2 separate regions of the Homo sapiens genome follow, and region 2 is linked to region 1. Evidence: promoter capture Hi-C in 16 types of primary human blood cells and fetal thymus (Javierre and others, 2016). All regions are on one chromosome and are shown on one strand. Each heading gives the region's core, a stretch centred on a gene start or on the middle of the fragment in contact. The rest is flanking DNA. Distances are from core to core; before and after follow the strand shown.

Region 1 (4,370 bases), core at 1,694-4,193:
TTTACGCCATGTGCAAAAATAGGCAAAATGAAACCACTGTGTGTAGGGAGGTGTACTTAGGTGGGGAAACCAAAGTCAGGTAAAAGTTAAGTGGATTTCTTCATGGGAAGGAAGAAAGCTGTGCTGGAGAGGAAGCAGGAGGGGGCTTGGGGGAAGGCGATAAGATTATTTTTCTTGCACCCGGTTGGTGGTTACACAGTTGTGTTCACTTTGTCATATTTATTCAGTGGGACATTTATGTCTCATTACTTTTCTGCATGTATATCACATTTCATAATTTAAAAGGTTTAAATTGACTGGGCACAGCAGCTCACACCTGTAATCCCGGCACTTTGGGAGGCCGAGGTGGGCAGATCACTTGAGTCTAGGAGTTCGAGACCAGCCTGGCCAACACAGTGAAACCCCGTCTCTACTAAAAATACAAGGCCGGGCGCGGTGGCTCACGCCTGCAGTCCCAGCACTTTGGGAGGCCGAGGCGGGCGGATCACGCCGTCAGAAGATCAAGACCATCCTGGCTAACAAGGTGAAACCCTGTCTCTACTAAAAATACAAAAAATTAGCTGGGTGTGGCGGCACGTGCCTGTAGTCCCAGCTACTTGGGAGGCTGAGGCAGGAGAATGGCTAGAACCCGGGAGGTGGAGTTTGCGGTGAGCCGAGATCACACCACTGCACTCCAGCCTGGGGGACAGAGTAAAGTGACTTAGAAAACTAGGCTTATTAAAACTCTGCCTTACAAACTGGGCAGACTAGATGTCTTGGTAATAATTAGAAGATTATTATCAATAATCTTCTAATTATTATAATGATAATTAGAAGATTATACGGGGGCACTTGCTCTGTGCTAGGCACTGTTCTAAGGGGTTTATTATTTAATCCTTGCAACAACCCTATAAGGTGCTACTATTGTTCCCATTTCACAGATGGGGAAACCGAGGCACCGTGCGGTTAAATCACTTGTCTAAGTTAGTCAGTGCTGAAGATAGATTTATAACCAGGCCATCTAGCCCCAGAGTCGATGCTCCATTCCCCACCGCAAGCTTATACCTGAGCTATAAGCCCTCATCCGCCAGTCAGGGTCCAACCAGAGGCAACTCCAGTGGGCTCTTTTCACCTGGGCTGGTGGTTGGGAATTCAGGAGCTACGTGAACTTGGATAGGGGAAACTTTTTTTACCTCTCCTTTTACTACACTTTAATCTAGCAGTTCTCAAAATGTGGTCTGGGGGCACCTGTGGGTCCGCAAGACCTTTCTCAGGGGCTAGTGAGGTCAAAAGTATTTTCATAATGATATTAAGACGTTTGTCCTTTTCATTCTCCAGAGACTACCTGACCTGTGATAATGTCATCACTCTGATGGCTAATAGAAATATATGCATGTATATTCGTGTGTTTTTAAAACTTCTCGTTTTCAGCCAGGTTCATGCCTGTAGTCCCAGCTACTCGGGAGGCTGAGGCTCGAAAATCGCATGAACCCAGGAGGCAGAGGTTGTAATGAGCCAAGATCGTGTTACTGTGCTCCAGCCTGGGCAACAGAGTGAAACTCTGTCTCAAAACAAAAACAAAACACACACACACACAAAACCAAAAAACAAACACAAAAACAAAACAACAACAACAAAAAAACCCCCCAACACCTTGTATCACAATAGCACTGGTTTCCTTTGTATTTCTGTGTATTTATATTATGCATGTAACGACATGATCCTGAGAAGGGCTTGACCAGCTTGCCATAGGCATCTTTAGCACAAAAAAGCTTAGGAACCTCCCATTCTGGACGAACTAAGAATACGGGGAGGTTATAATTGGGGGCCACAGGAGTGGCAGGTACTCAAGTTTGGTTATGAGAGCTACTTTCATTATATTTTAGGCTGTAATGGAGACTCTGGAAGTGGGAAGAAAAAAAAAAAAACTCAAACAGTGCAAAGGGCTCGTTTTGATTTTCCCACACTCCTAGTGCCAATTTCTGAAATTGGTGTCCACAATCAGTAGAAGCCTATGTGCTCTGAATTTACAAAGCCAAGTGGTGGCGGGTCATTGTATCTGCAGTCAGGAAGGGGAAACGACTGGAAATCCGGGCCCCCCCAGTTCTTCCCTGCTTCTCTTTTTGTGGCAGCCGCTCCTCACGTTCAAACAGATTGCAAAGGTTTACAGGGGAGAACCCTAACTTGTTCCCTAGACGTCAGTTTCTGGAGTTCCTGCATTAATACGATTAAAAAGAACAGCTGATTCTTATCCAGCCCTTACTCTGGGCCGGGCCCTGTTATCGGCATGAAATTTCATGCAGCAACTCGTTTACTCCTCACAACAGCCCACGGGGTATATACGAGCATCACCTCCTTTTTACAGGTGAAAAAACCCAAGGTCCAGCGAGGTTGAATAACTCACCTAGGTCGCACAGCTCAGAAAGCCCACTGCAATTCCGGGATTCTGGTTTTGTTTTGAGGTTGCCCCGGGCTTCTGAGGAGGGGTCAGTGGGCTCAGCATGGAAAGGAAGGAAGCCGGAAGGCTGGAGGAAGATGCAGCGAGGCTGGAAAGGTTGGGGATCCCCCGGTCCTGCACACCTGGGTACCTGGGGATCGGGCAGGGCCAGGATAGGGGCCGGTGTCCGTGCCCTGGGGCTCCCCAGCTGATGAGTGGGCGCCTGAGGGACGAGCGCAGGGTTACCTGCCTGGGCTCTCACCTGGTGGCCGGCTCAGAGGTGGCGCGCCGGAGACGTATCATAACCTTCCTGGGTCCCCCTTCCCGCGCCACGCCCTGGTGGGGTGGGCGGGTGGGTGTGGGGCGCCCAGGCAGGACCGGCCGGACCTGTGGGACCCGGGGCCCTGGCTGTCTAGGGAGGCTGTCACCCCGAGGCGACCGGCTCTTCCGGGGCTGGGACGGCTGTAGGCGGCAAGAGGCCTCGGCACCCGCGAACTCATAAATACCGGGGCGGCGCTGGTGGCGGGAGAGGCGCGTGCGGGCAGCCGGCGCCCCCGAGGGTGAGCCGGGGTCCGGGAGGGCGTCCCCTTTCCCGGATGGTCCCGACCCGGCTCCATCCTGGCAGCTGGAGACGGAGCTGGAGCAGGCGGGAAAGCGCTGGAGAGAAGGGGGGTGGGTACAGATGGGGGAAGGGCAGGGACGCTGGGGATGGGGAGAGAGGATGCGGCCGCTCTGGCCATGATGGGCTCTAAAGGATCTGGGGGTGGTGTGGGAGGATTGGGGTCACTAGGAGCAAAATAGAAGGCTAAGGATGGAGTAGGGAGGCGAGGTCCCGGGGGCAGGCGGGAATGCTTGGAATCTCGGGAGTAGGTAGGAGAACTGGGGTTTCTAACAGCAGGATGGAAAGCTGGGGATGGGGCTGCGGAATGCAACCTCCTACACAGCCTCCACCCCGCTCCCAGACCCCCAGCACTGAGAGTGAGCTCTGGTTAGGAGCAAGGCTCTGGAATCAGGCCCTCCTGGGTTCAAATCCTGGCTCCATCCCATCCTAGCTGTGCAGCTGAATCACTCAGCTGCTCGGTTTCCTCATCTGTGATATGGGGATGACAATGCTCACAGCCACCACTTCATAGCAATGTCGTGAGGCTTCCGTGAATTAATCTATGTCAAGCGGTTGGCACACTGTGAGTGAGGCTCAGAGAGCTCTGCTGCTGTTCCTTAGCGATTCTTATTTTTGGTTTCTCTCTCCAGCACCTGGATAACCACCCATCTTGAAGGAGACCTCCCTGCCCTGCCTCTGTTGTCCCCCAGAGCACTGCCTGATCATCCTCTGTTCCCCATCCTCCCAGCCCTTCCTGCTGTACCTGTGGGGAGCTGATCTCCTCAGTCCCCCTGCTTTTCCCCGGTCTGCCATCACCACCCCACCACCATGCACCCCCTTCCTGGCTACTGGTCCTGTTACTGTCTACTCCTGCTATTCTCCTTGGGAGTCCAGGGGTCCCTGGGGGCTCCCAGCGCTGCCCCAGAGCAAGTCCATCTGTCTTACCCAGGTAAGTGTCCCTGACTCATTTCTATGCCTCTACCAGAGAGGCCCAGCGGTGCTTCGTTGTTTGAGGGCTCAGGAATCCCACACTGTGAGCCCCTAGGCGGGTGGCTCATTCCTCCTGAGCCTCCATCATCCACCTCTGTGGAATAGGAAGTACAGGCTGTGGAACACCTGGAAGTGTGGGGAATGATCATGGTGCTCAGCCCACAGAGAGTGCTCCCCTGCTCTCAAAAGGGGACCGCTGCTGTCCTTGTTCATTGCATCTCTGTTGTGTTTCCGGGACCTGGCACGTTTGTTCGTTCATGCACGGTAGGCCTCAGAGCCAGTTGTGGAAGGAACCAGTGGATGAATGATAACAGAGCTGGGTTACCCAGCCCCTTCTCCATCCCTCTTCTCCTCTTCCCCACG
Region 2 (4,434 bases), core at 608-3,107, 260 kb after region 1:
GTAGCTGGGACTACAGGCATGTGCCACCACGCCCCGCTAATTTTGTATTTTTAGTAGAGATGGGATTTCACCATGTTGGTCAGGCTGGTCTCGAACACCTGCCTCGGCCTCCCAAAATGCTGGGATTACAGGTGTGAGCCACCGCGCTCATCCTATTGTTGTGTTTCTAGCACCTTAAGCAGAGCCTGGCACATATTAGATAGTCAAGAAATATTATTGAATGAATTAATGAACCAGCAGTTAATGAGCACAATAATTCTATGCAGTGTGAAGGCTGTTGCTTAAATGCAGGAGGTAGTGGATGGGGTTTGTGACATGGCCCCACCCTGGTGAAACAGCCTTTCCTCAAAGCGTCTATAATGCCACACTCTCCTGGTTTTCCTCTCTCTGGCTGCCTTTTGCAATATTCATCGACAGCGTCAATTCCTTTGCTCAAATCCTGCCTCTCTGTTTCAGGGTTCTGTTCAGTCCCTGTCTCCAGTGACCCTTCATACCCTCCCCGGGCTAGACCCCTAACTCCCACAGCCTCAATTACCATCTTTGACGATCCTTAAATCTTGGTCTCCAGCCTCAATTTCTCCCTTAAGCTCCAGACCCAGGGTTTGTGCACCTCCTGGACCTCGCTACTAGGCATCCACATTGGGCTTAGTATCTTCCCAACCTGCTTCTGGCGCCCAGTCTCCCGGCTAGAGGGGCCTGGTCCTAAACTTTTCTCCCCCTTCCACTCCATAGCCAGCCAGTGTCAGGGCCCGTTCGCTCTGCCTCCAGGGCGTCCCTCCCACCTGCACCTCCTTCCCTCCCCACAGTCCCTCCCTCGTGCAAACCCCCTCTTTCTTCCCCACCCCCTCCCCCAGCTGCCTCCCTGGACTCCCGATCCCGTTTCATTCCCTCCAATCCGCCCTCCATGTATAAGCCAGAGAGACATCTCTCCAAAACCCCAGACTCACCATGATCCTCCCCGGCTTGAAGCCCTTCACGGCTCCCTAGTGCCCTCGGGACAAGTCCAAACTCCCTCAAGTGGCCAAACAACTGGCCTCTGCTCGTTCCTCACCCCTCCCTGTCTTCAACTCGACCCTCCATCCCGACTGCCTCTCTAAGTGCCTGTAACAAGCCAGATCTCTGTCACCGAGAGCCTTCTGAACACAGGTCCCTCTGATTAGTTCACCCGGACCCAATACAGTTTGTGGAACGCACAGATCACAACCAAAGTCACAGCAACAACTCCCGTTTATTGACAGCCTCCTTGATCCTTAGCGCTTTCTGTGCATTCTCTTCCCACCCTAAAGGCTAGATCTCGCCTCGCCATTCCCATCGGAGAGAGCAAGCGGCAAGGCTGAGAACAGCGCGATGAGAAAGCCGAGCGCCCAGAAGCCCGAGTGCAGACGCCCACTGAGGACAGCCTTGGGTGAGGCGGGCCACCCAAGGGGCGGGGAAGAGGAGGCCTGGAACGCCTGAATCAGGAACTGTGACTTCGCTCGGGGCAGCTGGGGTGGACGCGCGCGAGCCTGCCCCCTGCGGGCCTGGAGGCCCAACCTCAGACTCCGCCGGGCCCGTTGCCCTGGGCAACGCCCCGCGCGCCCCGCCCCTTCCCCGCCCCCCAGCCCCAAACCCCAGGCCTGGCCGACTGCCCGTCACCCCCACGTCCGACCAATCCCGCCGAGGAGGGGGCGGGCCTCTTGGGCCCCGTTCCACCACCGTCGCTCCCCCCTCGCCGCGACCCCGCCTTACTCGGCTCACACCTCCCGCCCTTCGGGCTGCCCTCGCCGCCCGTTGGCTGGCGCGCCGTTCGTCACCCGGGCGTGAGCTAATGCCGGCGCGCGGCGGCCCCCGTCGGGGCGGGGCCAGGGGCGGTGACGCACGGCGCGGTGACGCAGCGCGACGGCGGCGGCGGCGGCGGCGGCGGTGGTCGGTGCGGGAGGAGGGAGGGGAGCTTGCGGGCCCGAGAGGGGGCGACGGCGGCGGCGGTGGCCTGAGGAGGCCCGAGCGGCGGCGGTGGCGGCGAAGGCCGAGGCGGTGAGTCTCGGGCCGGGCCGGCGCGGGGCGGCGGCGAGTCGGGGCGCGCGGGGCTCCCCTCAGGGCGACCCAGGCCGCGCGGGCGGCCCCGCCCCCTCAGGGACCCCGAACCGCGGGCGGCGGCGGCGGGCGGGTGCGGAACGCGGGCCTCGGGGGGCCGGGCCCCACGGGAGAAGCCCCGCGCCCGTCCCCAGTCTCCCTCCTGGGCCCTGGCCGAAGCTTCCCTCCGAAATCTTTCTCATGCCCTCGGGATTGCCGAGGGGCCGGGCCGGGGGCCTCTCCTCAGGACCCCCCGCACATCCCCCTCGGAGAGCCCCGGAAAGCCTGCCGATCCCCCGTGTGCGCCCTGAAAGGTCCCCGCAAAACCCACCCCTCCCGTGGAGTCGCCTCCTCGAGCCCTTCATGGGTCCCAGCAGCTTTCCTCGCAGACCCCCGCCCTTTGGCCCCGAAGCCCCCGTCCTCCTCCTGTCTCCAGAAATAGTCCTCGGAGGCCACTCCTCGTCCATTCCACAGCGTGGCTCTCATAGCTGCTCCAGGAGCCTCCCTCACGAGCCCTGCACACCTCCCCAAGGCTCCCTCCGGACCCCTGTCCATTCCAGAACTCTCCCCCGGAGCCCTGCCTCTCACAGCCCAACAGGCTCACCCGACTTCCCCCTCCCGGATCCTAAGAATTTTCCCTCCCACTTACCCCATTCCAGAAACCTCCTTGGAGATTTTCCGCTCATACCCCCTGCATTTCTGATTCCCCCTCCCAGAAGTCCTTCAGAATGCCCCCGACGGACCGTGATCATCTTCCCTGAAGATCTCCTTCCCATATCCCCAAAATAAATCTTCCTCACAGACTTTGTGAAATGCCCCCAGATCCCAAAAACTCACCTAGAAGACTCCATCCCCCTCCCCACCGTATTGCAACCATCTCTCATACACACTCCCCCTTCACGTATCCCTCTGGACCTTTCCACAGATCCCAAAAGTCTCCCCCAGAGGCCTCCTGTCTCCCCCTGGTCTCACCACCCTAAAATGCCCTAGAGATCACCCTCATGTAGCCCAGTGATCTTCACCGGGATCCCCTTCCCCACCCCCACTCATTCTAAAAATCTCCAGCAATTGCCTGAAATCTCCAGAGGACTCTCAGCATCATATTCCAAAAGCTTCTTCCAAAATCCCTTTTACATACTCCACATCTTTTCCAGTCCCCCACATCACACGCTCCAAAAATTGTTTAAGGATCCTGAAAACTTTCCTCATGGTTTTTCTCTCAGATCCCGTAGAACTCCCCTTCACTAACACCTCAGAATCCCCCCTTGCAGACCGGTTTTAGAGGAATTTTCTGAAGATCCTCCTCACAACCCCTGTAAGACCGTAAGATTCTCTTGGTGACCCCTCTGATATGCAGGTTTTCAGGACCCCCCCCCCCCACACACACACACAGCTTAGAGACCCCAGCGACCCCCTGGAGCCCTCCTGACGTATGTTCTTGAAATCCCTCCAAGACCTTCCTGACACCACCAGAACCCCTTGAATCAATACTTCTGCCTTACTAAGGGACTTTTCTAGAGATATCCCTCCCTGAACTTGCTCACACAGGTCCCCTAAATCCTCTAGAATCCCTTGAAGAAGACCCTCACACACACCTAATTTTCCCCCAAAATAACCCGAGCTCTTGCTCTGAGAAAGTCCTATAATTCTTTCTGAAAAACCCTCTCCTCTGACACTCTCTCAGAAGACCCCGCCTTCCCCATATACTCTTTTGGAGACTTTACTCAGCTTTCTCCTCAACTGAGATCTCTGAAGAGTTTTTCCTAAAAACATCCCTCTGTCATCCCACTCCAGGACCAGTCTCAGAAGACCACACCTTCCTCAGACACTTTTTAGAGAATTTTCTCCCAAATTGCCCTCCATCAGCCACCCACTCCCAGCGCTTCCTGAGACTTCCTCAGAACTTTCCCTCAGATTCCACTTCTGACATCCCCAAGAAACATTATTTAGGACCCTATCAGATTTACCCACTAACTTTAGAATTGCTATTTACACCCTCTCATTTCCCCATTCTCTTTCCTCTGAAGTCAACTCAGAGACCTTTCTCAGGGGGCCCCCTTTTCCCATTATCCCTTCAGAGGTCCCCAACATTCTCCAGACTCGTTGCCCAAGAGCCTCTATGTTTCCTTGTAAAGATTCTTGAGAGACACCTTTCCCCGCCCCCTTGAAATCCCAGTGCTCCGAGATCTTTCTTTCAGACCATTTTTCTTAGGTGCCATGCTCATAGACCCCTCTTCCCTTCAGAGATCAAGAGACCCTTAACACCCTCCTTAGAGACTTAGGATTCTCCCCATTTCCCTTTCAGAAGCCTTCTTCCTTCTCCCCTTTGAGGACCTCCTCACCAAATAATCCCTTCCCCTATAGCAGTGGTTCTCAGTGTGG

The links. Contacts are between HindIII fragments. The CHiCAGO score rates a contact against its expected background, and 5 or more counts as called.
Region 2: a contact is called between the fragment with the promoter of SAMD4B here and the fragment with the promoter of ACP7 in region 1, in 3 of 17 cell types (total CD8 T cells, naive CD8 T cells and total CD4 T cells). The highest score is 6.8, in total CD8 T cells.

What each region holds. Positions count from the first base shown.
Region 1 is chr19:39,081,425-39,085,794 of GRCh38, forward strand. ACP7 (acid phosphatase 7, tartrate resistant (putative)) reads left to right here and starts at 2,944. Exons shown (of 13, transcript NM_001004318.3): 1 at 2,944-2,976; 2 at 3,668-3,966. The coding sequence starts at 3,846. RefSeq lists an enhancer at 2,797-3,297. The HindIII fragment of the contact is 23,028 bases long and covers 1,750-4,370 here.
Region 2 is chr19:39,340,564-39,344,997 of GRCh38, forward strand. SAMD4B (sterile alpha motif domain containing 4B) reads left to right here and starts at 1,858. Exons shown (of 14, transcript NM_001384574.2): 1 at 1,858-2,013. RefSeq lists a silencer at 1,547-1,976. The HindIII fragment of the contact is 6,593 bases long and covers 1-2,230 here.